Linked DNA regions of Homo sapiens: all the other regions are linked to region 1. Evidence: promoter capture Hi-C in 16 types of primary human blood cells and fetal thymus (Javierre and others, 2016). All regions are on one chromosome and are shown on one strand. The core of a region is centred on a gene start or on the middle of the fragment in contact, and the rest is flanking DNA. Distances in the headings are between cores, read along the strand shown. Region 1 holds the start of JADE2 (jade family PHD finger 2). Region 2 has its middle 54 kb from the start of PPP2CA-DT. Region 3 overlaps CDKL3 (cyclin dependent kinase like 3). Region 4 overlaps UBE2B (ubiquitin conjugating enzyme E2 B).

What was found. Contacts are between HindIII fragments. The CHiCAGO score rates a contact against its expected background, and 5 or more counts as called.
Region 2: a contact is called between a fragment that was not itself captured here and the fragment with the promoter of JADE2 in region 1, in 1 of 17 cell types (total CD8 T cells). The highest score is 6.4, in total CD8 T cells.
Region 3: a contact is called between a fragment that was not itself captured here and the fragment with the promoter of JADE2 in region 1, in 6 of 17 cell types (erythroblasts, naive CD8 T cells, total B cells and 3 more). The highest score is 7.5, in erythroblasts.
Region 4: a fragment that was not itself captured here is called in contact with the fragment with the promoter of JADE2 in region 1 in 15 of 17 cell types (naive CD4 T cells, total CD8 T cells, total B cells and 12 more); the score reaches 17.1 in naive CD4 T cells.

What each region holds. Positions count from the first base shown.
Region 1 is chr5:134,524,363-134,526,949 of GRCh38, reverse strand. JADE2 (jade family PHD finger 2) reads right to left here and starts at 1,280. Exons shown (of 12, transcript NM_001388185.1): 1 at 939-1,280. It overlaps LOC124901070 (a long non-coding RNA gene), which reads left to right and starts at 1,348. Exons shown (of 3, transcript XR_007058942.1): 1 at 1,348-1,484; 2 at 1,867-2,044. RefSeq lists silencers at 1-810, 821-1,080, 1,111-1,190, 1,321-1,540, 1,561-1,610 and 1 more. The HindIII fragment of the contact is 6,085 bases long and covers 1-2,587 here.
Region 2 is chr5:134,278,906-134,281,492 of GRCh38, reverse strand. No RefSeq gene overlaps it. Among named protein-coding and RNA genes, the nearest start is that of PPP2CA-DT, 54 kb to the right of the region's middle. The HindIII fragment of the contact is 5,733 bases long and covers 1-2,587 here.
Region 3 is chr5:134,323,002-134,325,588 of GRCh38, reverse strand. All of the region lies in intron 4 of CDKL3 (cyclin dependent kinase like 3), which reads left to right. Among named protein-coding and RNA genes, the nearest start is that of CDKL3, 43 kb to the left of the region's middle. The HindIII fragment of the contact is 2,230 bases long and covers 196-2,425 here.
Region 4 is chr5:134,388,952-134,391,538 of GRCh38, reverse strand. It overlaps UBE2B (ubiquitin conjugating enzyme E2 B), which reads right to left. Exons shown (of 6, transcript NM_003337.4): 6 at 1-1,314. The coding sequence ends at 1,186. Among named protein-coding and RNA genes, the nearest start is that of UBE2B, 19 kb to the right of the region's middle. The HindIII fragment of the contact is 476 bases long and covers 1,042-1,517 here.

The DNA of each region.
Region 1 (2,587 bases), core at 31-2,530:
AAGGTAAACAAGGGCCACGCCCCCTGCCGTCGCCCCGCGGGCGCGCACCCGCCGCTCCGGCCGCCGCCGGTACATTTCCACTCTCCCAGCGCCTCTCCCCAGCTGGACTACCGCGCGGCCCCGGAGGTGGAGGCTGCCCCCGACCCCAGTCCTCACCCCTGGCGCCGAGGCTCCGCACCCTCCACACTCACCTGGAAAGGGTGTCCCCCGCCCCTCCAAAAAAACTGTCTAATTTGTGCAGAGCCTCCAACCCCAGGAGCCGAGCATGCTGCCCCCGCGTGCAGCGCCCGCGTGCACCGGGCCGGGAGAGGGGGCGACAGGGCGGAGGCGGTGGCCCCCGGAAGGTGTCTGGGACCGGACCGGCTGCACGTGAGCCCAGCGCGAGGTCATGTGCACCGGCTCAGCCCGGTTCGGCGCCCGGACGTGCTGCGTATCAACAAAATGAAACTCGGGGAGACAGGAGGGCAGATAGCTCCAGGTTCTCGGAGCCCCCGCCCGGGCCGCTCGACCTCCCCACCGTACCCATCTCCCGCCGCAGCCCCTACGCCCGGCCGGAGCCCGCGGGGAAGTTGCAGCCCTGGCGCGCCCCCGCCCGCCCGCGCCCCCTCGCCGGCCCGGGGGCGCTTTGCCGCAGTCATTAATAAAGAAGGTCGCCAAGCTCACCCTTCCAAAAGTTGTTGTTGCATGCGCCCCTCTCAGCCTCCCCGCACTGTACTCTTTAAAACACGACTGACCAACATGCGCAATCTCTCTCCCCTGTGCTGTGCATCCCCCCCCTCTCCGCGCTGGCTTCCTAGAACAGGCAGCCAGCAGGAGAGAGAGGGAGCGAGCGAGCAAGAGAGAGCGAGGGAGCGAAGAGCGCTGGCAGATCTGTTGCAAAAACGCCAAATAACGTCGTGGAGATGCGCAGGGCCCATCCGCCGGGGGCTGGATCTTACCTTGCTCCGCGGTGCCCCCCTGACGGGCGCTGCCCTCGGCTACGCGCCGCTGCAGGGACCGGCGCGGGAAGGATGCTCCCGAAGCCGGGAGCTCCTGGGGCCGGCGCGGGAGGGCGGGGGGCGCGCATCCATCCGGGGTCGCGGCGAGGGAGGCGGCCGGGCCCGCGGCGTCCCAGGCCCCACGCCCCCCGCCGGGGACGGTCGGCCCGCAGGACCTAAGCCGGTGCCGCTAGGAGTGGGCGCAAAGTAACTCCATGGACGCTACTCACCCCCCCCAAAAAATAGCCTCCAACTGCGATGGCCGCGGTCGGCACCATTCACCAACCCCCTGTGTATGTTTCTGTTTCTTTTTAAACCAAGACTTCCTTGTGATCTCTTTAGAAAAAAAAAATGTGTTGGGGTGGGGGTGGGGTGGGGGCGGGCAGGAGGAGCGAGGGAGGGGGAGTAGCCACTTTTTTCTTATTCACTCGGATCTCCGCTCCCGACACCCCCGTCGCCGCCCCCCCAACCCCCCGCCCAGTTGTTTGGCTCCGGCGGGGAGTCCAGGTAGCGTTGCGGGCCCCGTGGGGGAAGGGTGCCCTCCCTCGCAGCCCCACCACCACGCCTGCTGGCACCCTGGGCCCGGACTCCCCATGGACTCTGGGGCGCCCCTAGCCCGCCCTGTCCCCAGGGCCGGGCCCGAGCGGCGGCTGCGCCCGTGCAAGTCCCATCAGGTCTGCTCACACTTCACACACTCACACACATACCCCGCCCCTCCACTCTTTCACTCACACTTTCTGCTCACACCCCGCCCCCTACGCGCCCCAGACCCGGGCGGCGCCCCCCGCAACCTTAAAAAAAAAAAAAAGCGAGCTTATACTTAAAAAAATCTTTTGGCGCCATATTAATGACGTACTTAAAATTTGCCATTTCTCCCTGCGTCAAAAAGACGTTTCTTTGCAAATAACAGCCTGGAGGCGACACTCGCGGAGGGAACGAGGTTTGCACTGAGCACCCCGCCCCCCGGGGCTCCAGCGCTGGAAGACCCTCGCCCTAGGCCCTGCTTCTGAATCGCTGGTTTTAAAATGCGAATCGAATAAATTGCGTGGCGTTTTGCAGCACCAGAAGTGAGCAGAAAGTGCTGGCAGGAGGGGAGTGGAGGGGCGAACGCGAGTCTTGGGGAGGGGGCGCGGCCCTCCTCCCCGCACCCACTCCAAATGGAAAACTAACATTCCGGGCGGGGGAACTTGAAATTGTAGGCGACCTCAAGAAAAGAGGGGCGGTCCGTAGAGAGGGTCCCCATTGGGCTCGTCGCCCCCTCCCCCCTCCCGGGTGCCTCCTGGCGCCTAGCGCTGCCCCGCATTTCCGGGGGGTGGAGAAGGCAGTGATGAGCGGGTGGGTGGGTGGTTGCACATCCTGGCCCCAGCAGGATTTTGCCCCGGGGCGACCCCTTCCTCCTTGCTCTTCCTTCCCATTACCCCGAAAGGGTTAAAAACCGAGGGGTAACTTCCAAAGGCTGGCACATGGCGAGGAAGCGGGGCGCCCCTCTCCCCACCCTTCGCCTCCTCGCCCCTCCTCCTCCGGCTCCACTTCCCGACTTGACCTTGTGGTGCACAAACAGTACGCTCGGATCCTCGCAGTTTCTGGAAGAAGAGCCTGCGCTCGCCAGG
Region 2 (2,587 bases), core at 42-2,541, 250 kb after region 1:
ATAATAATGGAAATTAGATAATAATTTCCATATAATAATACATAGAAAATGATAATAAAATAATACATAGAAAATGATAATAAAAATGCAGTCTCAAAACATATGGCGTAAGATACTTATGCTTCTAGATATGATAGTTTGCAACAAAATTAAACATCCACTGAGAACCACTAAAGCCAGGTGAAATGCAAGAAATTTCTGTTTAAAGGCAGAGAGCTGATGATGTAATAGTGATTTGAGGGGATAATTCCAGAGAGTTGAGCTGATGGTTTGCAGTGGCTTTTTCCTGGGGAATATAGACTGATTCTTGAAACAAGAAAAAAACTGAGAATTCAGACTTAGCTCTGGAAGAGGGCCCCTACTACGGTACAGAGAAACTAACAGAACTTTCTAGTAGTTTCATACAGCTAGAGTGACAACATCAGAGACATGAACAGTCTGAACACATAGTTTGTTTCCCCTTCAAGACAGAGTGGAAAGATCTAACCTAAGTATAATTAGGTTCCCATAAGAAGAGGAGAGAGAAAATAAGGCAGAAGCGCTGGCGTGGTGGCTCACGCCTGTAATTCCAGCACTTTGGGAGGCTGAGGCAGGTGGATCACAAGGTCAGGAGTTCGAGACCAGCCTGGCCAATATGGTGAAACCCCATCTCTACTAAAAATACAAAAGTTAGCCAGGCACGGTGGCACGTGTCTGTAGTCCCAGCTACTCGGGAGGCTGAGGCAGAAGAATCGCTTGAACTCGGGAGGTGGAGGTTGCAGTGAGCTGAGATTGAGCCACTGCGCTCCAGCCTAGGTGAAAGAGCAAGACTCTATCTCAAAAATAAATAAATAAAATAAATAAATAAATAAATAAATAAGGCAGAAGCAATATTTGAAGAGAATGTCCAAAAATACTACCAAACTGATGAAAGACAAAAATTTATGTATTTAAGAAGCTCTGTAAACCCCAGGCAGGAAAAATACAAAGAAAACCCCACCTAGGCTGGTCATGGTGGCTCACACCTGTAACCCCAGCACTTTGGGAGGCCGAGGTGGGCAGATCACTTGAGACCAGGTGAGACCAGCCTAGCCAACATGGTGAGACCCCATGTCTACTAAAAATACAAAAAATTAGCCGGGTGTGCTGGCGTGCACCTGTAATCCCAGCTACTTGGGAGGCTGAGGTGGGAAAATTGCTTGAACCTGGGAGGCAGAGGTTGCAGTGAGCCGAGACAGCACCACCGCATTCTAGCCTGGGCGACCGAGTGAGACTCCGTCTCAAAAAAAAAAAAAAGAAAGAAAACCCCACCTAAGCACATCATAATGAAACTGCTTAATTCAAATATAAAAAGAAAATCTAAAAGGCAAGAAGTCATGTTTCCTTTAAAGGAGCTGATCTCAACAAAAATGATGAAATCCAGAAGACAATGAAATGACACCTTTGAAGTACTGAAAGAAAATAGCTGCCAAGCTAGAATCGTATATTCTGTGACAAAAATGAGGGCAAAATACAGACTTTTCTTCTTTTTAAGACAGTTTTACCCTTGTTGCCTGGGCTGGAGTGCAATGACATGATCTCGGCTCACTGTAACCTCCCCCTAAGCAAACATATAAGCAGAAAGAATTTATTGCCAGAAGATCTGCCTTAAGATAAAAGCTGAAGAGAGGTTTTTTTTTGTTTTGTTTTGTTTTGTTTTTGAGACGCTCTGTTGCCCAGGCTACAGTGGTGCAATCTCGGCTCATTGCAACCTCCGCCTACTGGGGTCAAGTGATTCTCATGCCTCAGCCTCCGAAGTAGCTGGAATTACAGGCACCTGCCACCACACCCAGCTATTATTATTATTATTATTATTATTGGTACATACAGGGTTTTACAATGTTGACCAGGCTAGTCTCGAACCCCTGACCTCAAGTGACCCTCCCACCTCAGCTTTCCAAAGTGCTGGGATTACAGGTGTGAGCTATTGTGCCTGGCCTGAAGAGAGTTCTTAAGGCAGAAGGAAAATAGTCCCAAATGGAAACAGGAAATTTGAAGGGAATGAAGAATAACAAAAGGGGGAAATGTGTGAGTAAATATAAATAAATATTGACTGTAAAGATTAATCATAGTAATATGAGGGCTTAAAATATATGTAGAATTAAAACTCATGACTCCAATAAAGCAAGAAGGAGAGGGCAAATAGAGATAAAGTGTTCTAAGATTTTAGCATTATCAGGGAAATATTAAAATAGTAATTTGTATTAAACTCAAGTCAAAGATGGTAAGTATAATTCCAACTGTATTAGTAATTACATTAAAACAAATAGAATAAATACTCCAAATAGAAGATGAATATTATCAGATTGGATTAAAAATTATCTAACTATAACCTGGGTATGGTGGCATGTGCCTATAATTCCAGCTACTCAGAAGGCTGAGGCAGGAGGATTGCTTGAGGCTAGGCATCAAGGCCAGCCTGGCCAACATAGTAAGACTCCAATCTAAAAAGAAAAGTTAAAAAAACCCCAGCTATATGCTGCATATAAAAAATATCTTAAGTATAAGACACTGAAATGCTCAAAGTAAAAGTTGGAAAAAGTATAGTGTGCAAACAATAATTGAAAGA
Region 3 (2,587 bases), core at 61-2,560, 200 kb after region 1:
AACTCACATAACACTGGTGGGGAAATGTAAACTTGTACAATCTCTCTGGAAAACTGTTATTAAATAACAATTAAAGCTGAACATACACATATGTGTATTCACCAAAAGATCCAAAACTTGGTCTTAATTTTATTTATTCTCACTAAAACTTACTAATATTCATTAAATTCTTAAAACTTGTGAAATAAGCAAGCTTATAAGTTACTATTATATCATCTATGGTTATAATGTAGATCTGAAAAACTGTATATACTATAATTAATTCCTTTATTTCTTAGGTCATTATCTAGCAGTATACACACATGCATACACATACTTCTCCATCTCCTTCCTTTTGAACAGAAATAGGAACATACTATATACATAGTATAGAATCTTGGTTTCCCTCCCCACTCTTCTTTATTTACTTATGAGACAGTGTCGCATTCTGTCTCACAGGCTGAAGTACAGTGGCATACTCATGGCTCACTGCAGCTTTGATTTCCCAGGCTCAAGTGATCCTCCTGCCTCAGCCTCCAAAGTAGCTGGGACTACAGGCATGAGCCACCAAGCCCTGCCACTTTTTATTTGTTTATATTCAGGGACTTTAATTTTTAGACCAGTTTTAGGCTCCAGAAGAATTGAACAGAAAGTGTAGTTTCCTTATGTCCCCTCCACCCTACTCCACACATTTCTCTATTACTAACATCTTGTATTAGTGTGGTACATTTGTTACAATTGATGTACCAATATTGAACATTATTAACTAAATTCCATAGTTTAGAGTTTACTCTGTGTTGTATTTCCTGGGTTTTGATAAATGTATAATGTCATGTATCCATCATTATAGTATCATACAGAATAATTTTATGGTCCTAAAAATCTTCTGTGCTTCGTTTTTATTCTTCCGTCCCTCTCCCAGAACTGCTGGCAATCATTGGTCTTTTTACTGTTACTATACTTTAGGCTTTTCCAGAATATCATATAGTTGGAATCACATAGTATGTAGCTTTTTCAGACTGGCTTCTTTGACCTAGCAATATATATTTAAGGTTCCTCCTTTTTTTTTGGTATCTTGACAGCTCACTTCTCTTTTATTGCTAAATAATATTCCATTGTATGTATGTACCACAGTTTGTTTATCCACTCACCTATTGAAGGACATCTTTATTGCTTCCATGTGTTGGCAATTATGAAGCAAGCTGTTATAAGCATTCGTGTCCAGGTTTTTATGTGGACAGAAGTGTTCTACTCACTTGGGTAAATCCCAAGGAGAGCAATTGCTGGGTTGTATGGTAAGACTATGTTTAGCTTTGTTAGAAGCTGTCAAATTGTCCTCCAAAGTGACTGTGTAATTTTGTGTTTCTACCAGCAATGAATGAGAGTACCTGTTGTTTGCCATCCTCACCTGCATTTGATGTTGTCAGTATTTTGGATTTTAGGCATTCTAATAGGTGTGTAGTGGTATCTCGTTGTTTTAATTTGCAATTGTCTGATGACATATGATACTGGGCATCTGTTAATATGCCCATTTGCCATCTGTATATTTTCTTTGGTGAAATGTATATTCTTATATTTTGCCCATTTTTTAATTGGGTTATTTTCTTATTGAATTTTAAGAGTTTTATGTATTTTGGATACAAGTTCTTTATTATTTTGCAAATATTTTCTCGCAGTTTGTGGCTTGTCTTTTTATTTGCTTAACAGTATCTCTCATGGAGCAGAAAAGTTTAGTTTTAGTGAAGTTCTAACTATCAATTTTTTCTTTTGTGAATTATACTTTTGGTGTTGTATCTAAAAACTCATTACCAAACCTAAGGCCATCTAGATTTTTTCCTATGTGATTGTCTAGAGGTTTTACAGTTTTGCATTTTATATTTAGGTCTATCATCTATCTTGAGTTAATTTTTGTGAAAGGGATAAGGTCTGTGTCTAGATTCAGTTTTTTGTATGTTCCAGCACTATTTGTTGAAAAGACTGTCTTTTTTTTATCTTATTATTCAATTGCCTCTGTTCCTTTGTCAAAAATCAGTTGAGCACATTTGTGCAAGTCTATTTCTGGGTTCTTTATTCTGTTCCCTTGATCTATTTATCTATTCTTTCACCAATACCATACTATCTTGCTTGTTGTATAAAACATCTTGAAGTCAAGTAGTGTCAGTCTTTGTTCTTTTTCAAATTGTGTTGGCTATTCTGGGTCTATTGCCTCTCCATATAAACTTTGCAATCAATTGTCAATATCTACAAAACAATTTCCTAGGATTTTTAAAAATTTACAGATTAAATTGTATGTATTTATTGTGTACAGCATGATGTTTTGAGGTATATATATACGTTGTGAAATGACTAAATTTGGCTAATTTACATATGTGTGTTACCTCACATAATTATCAATTTTTAATTTACTGGGATTTTGTCTGGGATTGTATTGACTCTACATAAAGCTTGGAAGAACTGACATCTTGACAATATTGAGTCTTCCTATTGATGAACATGGAGTATCTCTCCATTTATTTAGATCTTTTATTTCTTTCATGAATGTTGCTTTTTTCACTTGACAGTTTATCTTGGAGATCATTCCATTTCAGCACATATAGATAGACCTACC
Region 4 (2,587 bases), core at 30-2,529, 140 kb after region 1:
CACAGGTGGTTCAACAGAATTTACTTGTATATTTTCCATTTTCTATACTATTTGAAGGCATAGGATAGTTTTGTATTAGCTTTCTACAATACTGTGTTTTAAATTTATCCAGTAAACTAAGATGCAGTACAACTTTTATACAACTCAGGAGATTAAAAAAAAAATCTCCACAAGAAGAAGCAACTCAGCAGGCCCTGGCATTAAAACATTTCCCAGAATAAACAGATATGCATTGCATTAAAGGTAATTTTCAAATATTTAAGTTACACCAAGATTTCCCTCCAATATGTGCCTTTCTCAAACCAATGCAACTAATTCATTGCTAATACTGGGGCATGAATTTTTGGCAAATGTTTATGGTTTTACTTTCTTCATTAATCAAAAAATTTTTTAAAGTGCTACCAAGCAGCAAAACAAGTCGCATCAGTTCTCTGCTCATGGCAGAAGTGCCAACTGTGAAATCGCAAAAGGTACAGTTTTAACAGTAAGTAATGCATGAAGAAACTGTAACAAATGGCCTAAATACAGAGTTGGACAGAGTCAAACCAGTTATGTCTAGAATTACTCAATTGAAACTAATAGAGGTACATTCAAAATAAAGTTGGAGATTATAATCGCTATTTAGAATCAAATTTGAAGACTTCCTTGATAAAATATAAGAATGTTCTTTTGAAATTGTAAATGAAACTATCAATAGATGGAGAGCTAGAGACTTATTAACCCCTCCTACACACATAAGGAAATAAGTGACAAAGTCTCTTGCACTGAAGTTATGTATTTTAACAGCTTTACATGTAATATTCATATATAAAAAACTTTAAGTGCTTTTCTCCAATTTAAAAATCTAAAGAATTCAAAAATAAGGCATTCAATATTTGAAAAAAGTACAGATTTACAAAATGTGTATATTCTGTCATGAAAACTCCACACCAACATTATACACTTGGAAAAAAATACAAACAGGATATATTACAAATTTATGCAGCAATAACTTAGTTCACACCATGCAATAAAAAGTACATTAATCAAGATACACAAGCTTTTGTAGGTTCTAAACTGAAGGACTTTTTTCTTTTTTTTCTGCAGAATCCTTAAAACCTGTGGCACTTAAAATTTGTTAGCCTTTCTAATGAGAGGTAAATTATACACAACAATGATGAAAAAGATTAACAGACCAGTTGTCTATTATGAATCATTCCAGCTTTGTTCAACAATGGCCGAAACTCTTTTCTCATATTCTCGTTTGTTTTCCTGATAAAGCTGTGCTGCCTGGCTATTGGCTGGACTGTTAGGATTCGGTTCATCCAGCAGAGACTAGGAGGAAAGAAAAGAAAAAACAGATTTGCATAGTTGTTCTTTATACCAACAGGGGTCAGATATGGAATATATTACAGAAAAGTTATACAAAACAACAAATTACTTCAGAGATTAACATGTCATATAATTTTGGGTCTAAATACTTTTAGAAATGATTTGATAAATACTATGGGGTTTCCTGCTGCTAAGGAACTTAAGCTTCTGAAATAAAGTTCTCAATTGCCTTAAGACCTATAATTTCAGCTGGGTACAGTGGCTTGTGCCTGTAATCCTAACACTTTGGGAGGCCAAGGCAGGAGGATCCCTTGAGCCCAGCAGTTCAAGCCCAGCCTGGGCAACATAGGGAGACCCTGTTTCTATTAAAAAAGAAAAAGAGGTCGGGTGTGGTGGCTCACGCCTGTAATCCCAGCACTGTGGGAGGCCGAGGCGGGCAGATCACCTGAGGTAGGGAGTTCGAGACCAGCCTGACCAACATGGAGAAAACCCCGTAATTTCTAAAAATACAAAATTAGCCGGGTGTGGTGGCGCATGCCCGTAATCCGCTACTCGGAAGGCTGAGGCAGGAGAATTGCTTGAACCCGGGAGGCAGAGGTTGCAGTGAGCTGAGATCGCGCCACTGTACTCCAGCCTGGGCAACAAGGGTGAAATTCCGTCTCAAAAAAAAAAAAAAGAAAAAAGAAAAGAAAAAAATACCTATAATTTGAAAGAAATCAGAAAAGAATATTCTTAAGCATATTGAGACGTTCTCATTAAACCAAGGAAATAAACAGCTTAATTTGGTTAAGATATCAATAATTCTCAGTAACCAACATTTTCCAAGGTTAAACTCTATTACTGCAGTTACTTTGCAAATGTCTTGACAGTAAATTTGGGAGATAAGTCTTATTTCCTTTAATCAACAAAACATATACATTTAGCAGGAAGAGAATGAGATAGGAAGGTTGAAAAACAACGCTTGTAAGATGACCAGAACTGGCCTGGTGCAGTAGCTCACGCCTGTAATCCCAACACTTTCGGAGGCTCAGACGGGCGGATCATGAGGTCAGATGGAGACCATCCTGGCTAACACTGTGAAACCCCATCTCTACTAAAAATACAAAAACTTAGCCAGGCGTGGTAGCATGTGCCTATAGTCCTAGCTACTCAGGAGGCTGAGGCAGGATAATCACTTGAACCCGGGAGGCAGAGGTTGCGGTGAGCCAAGATTGTGCCATTGCACTCCAGTCTGGGCAACAGAGCAAGACACTGTCTCAAAAAAAAAAAAAAAAAA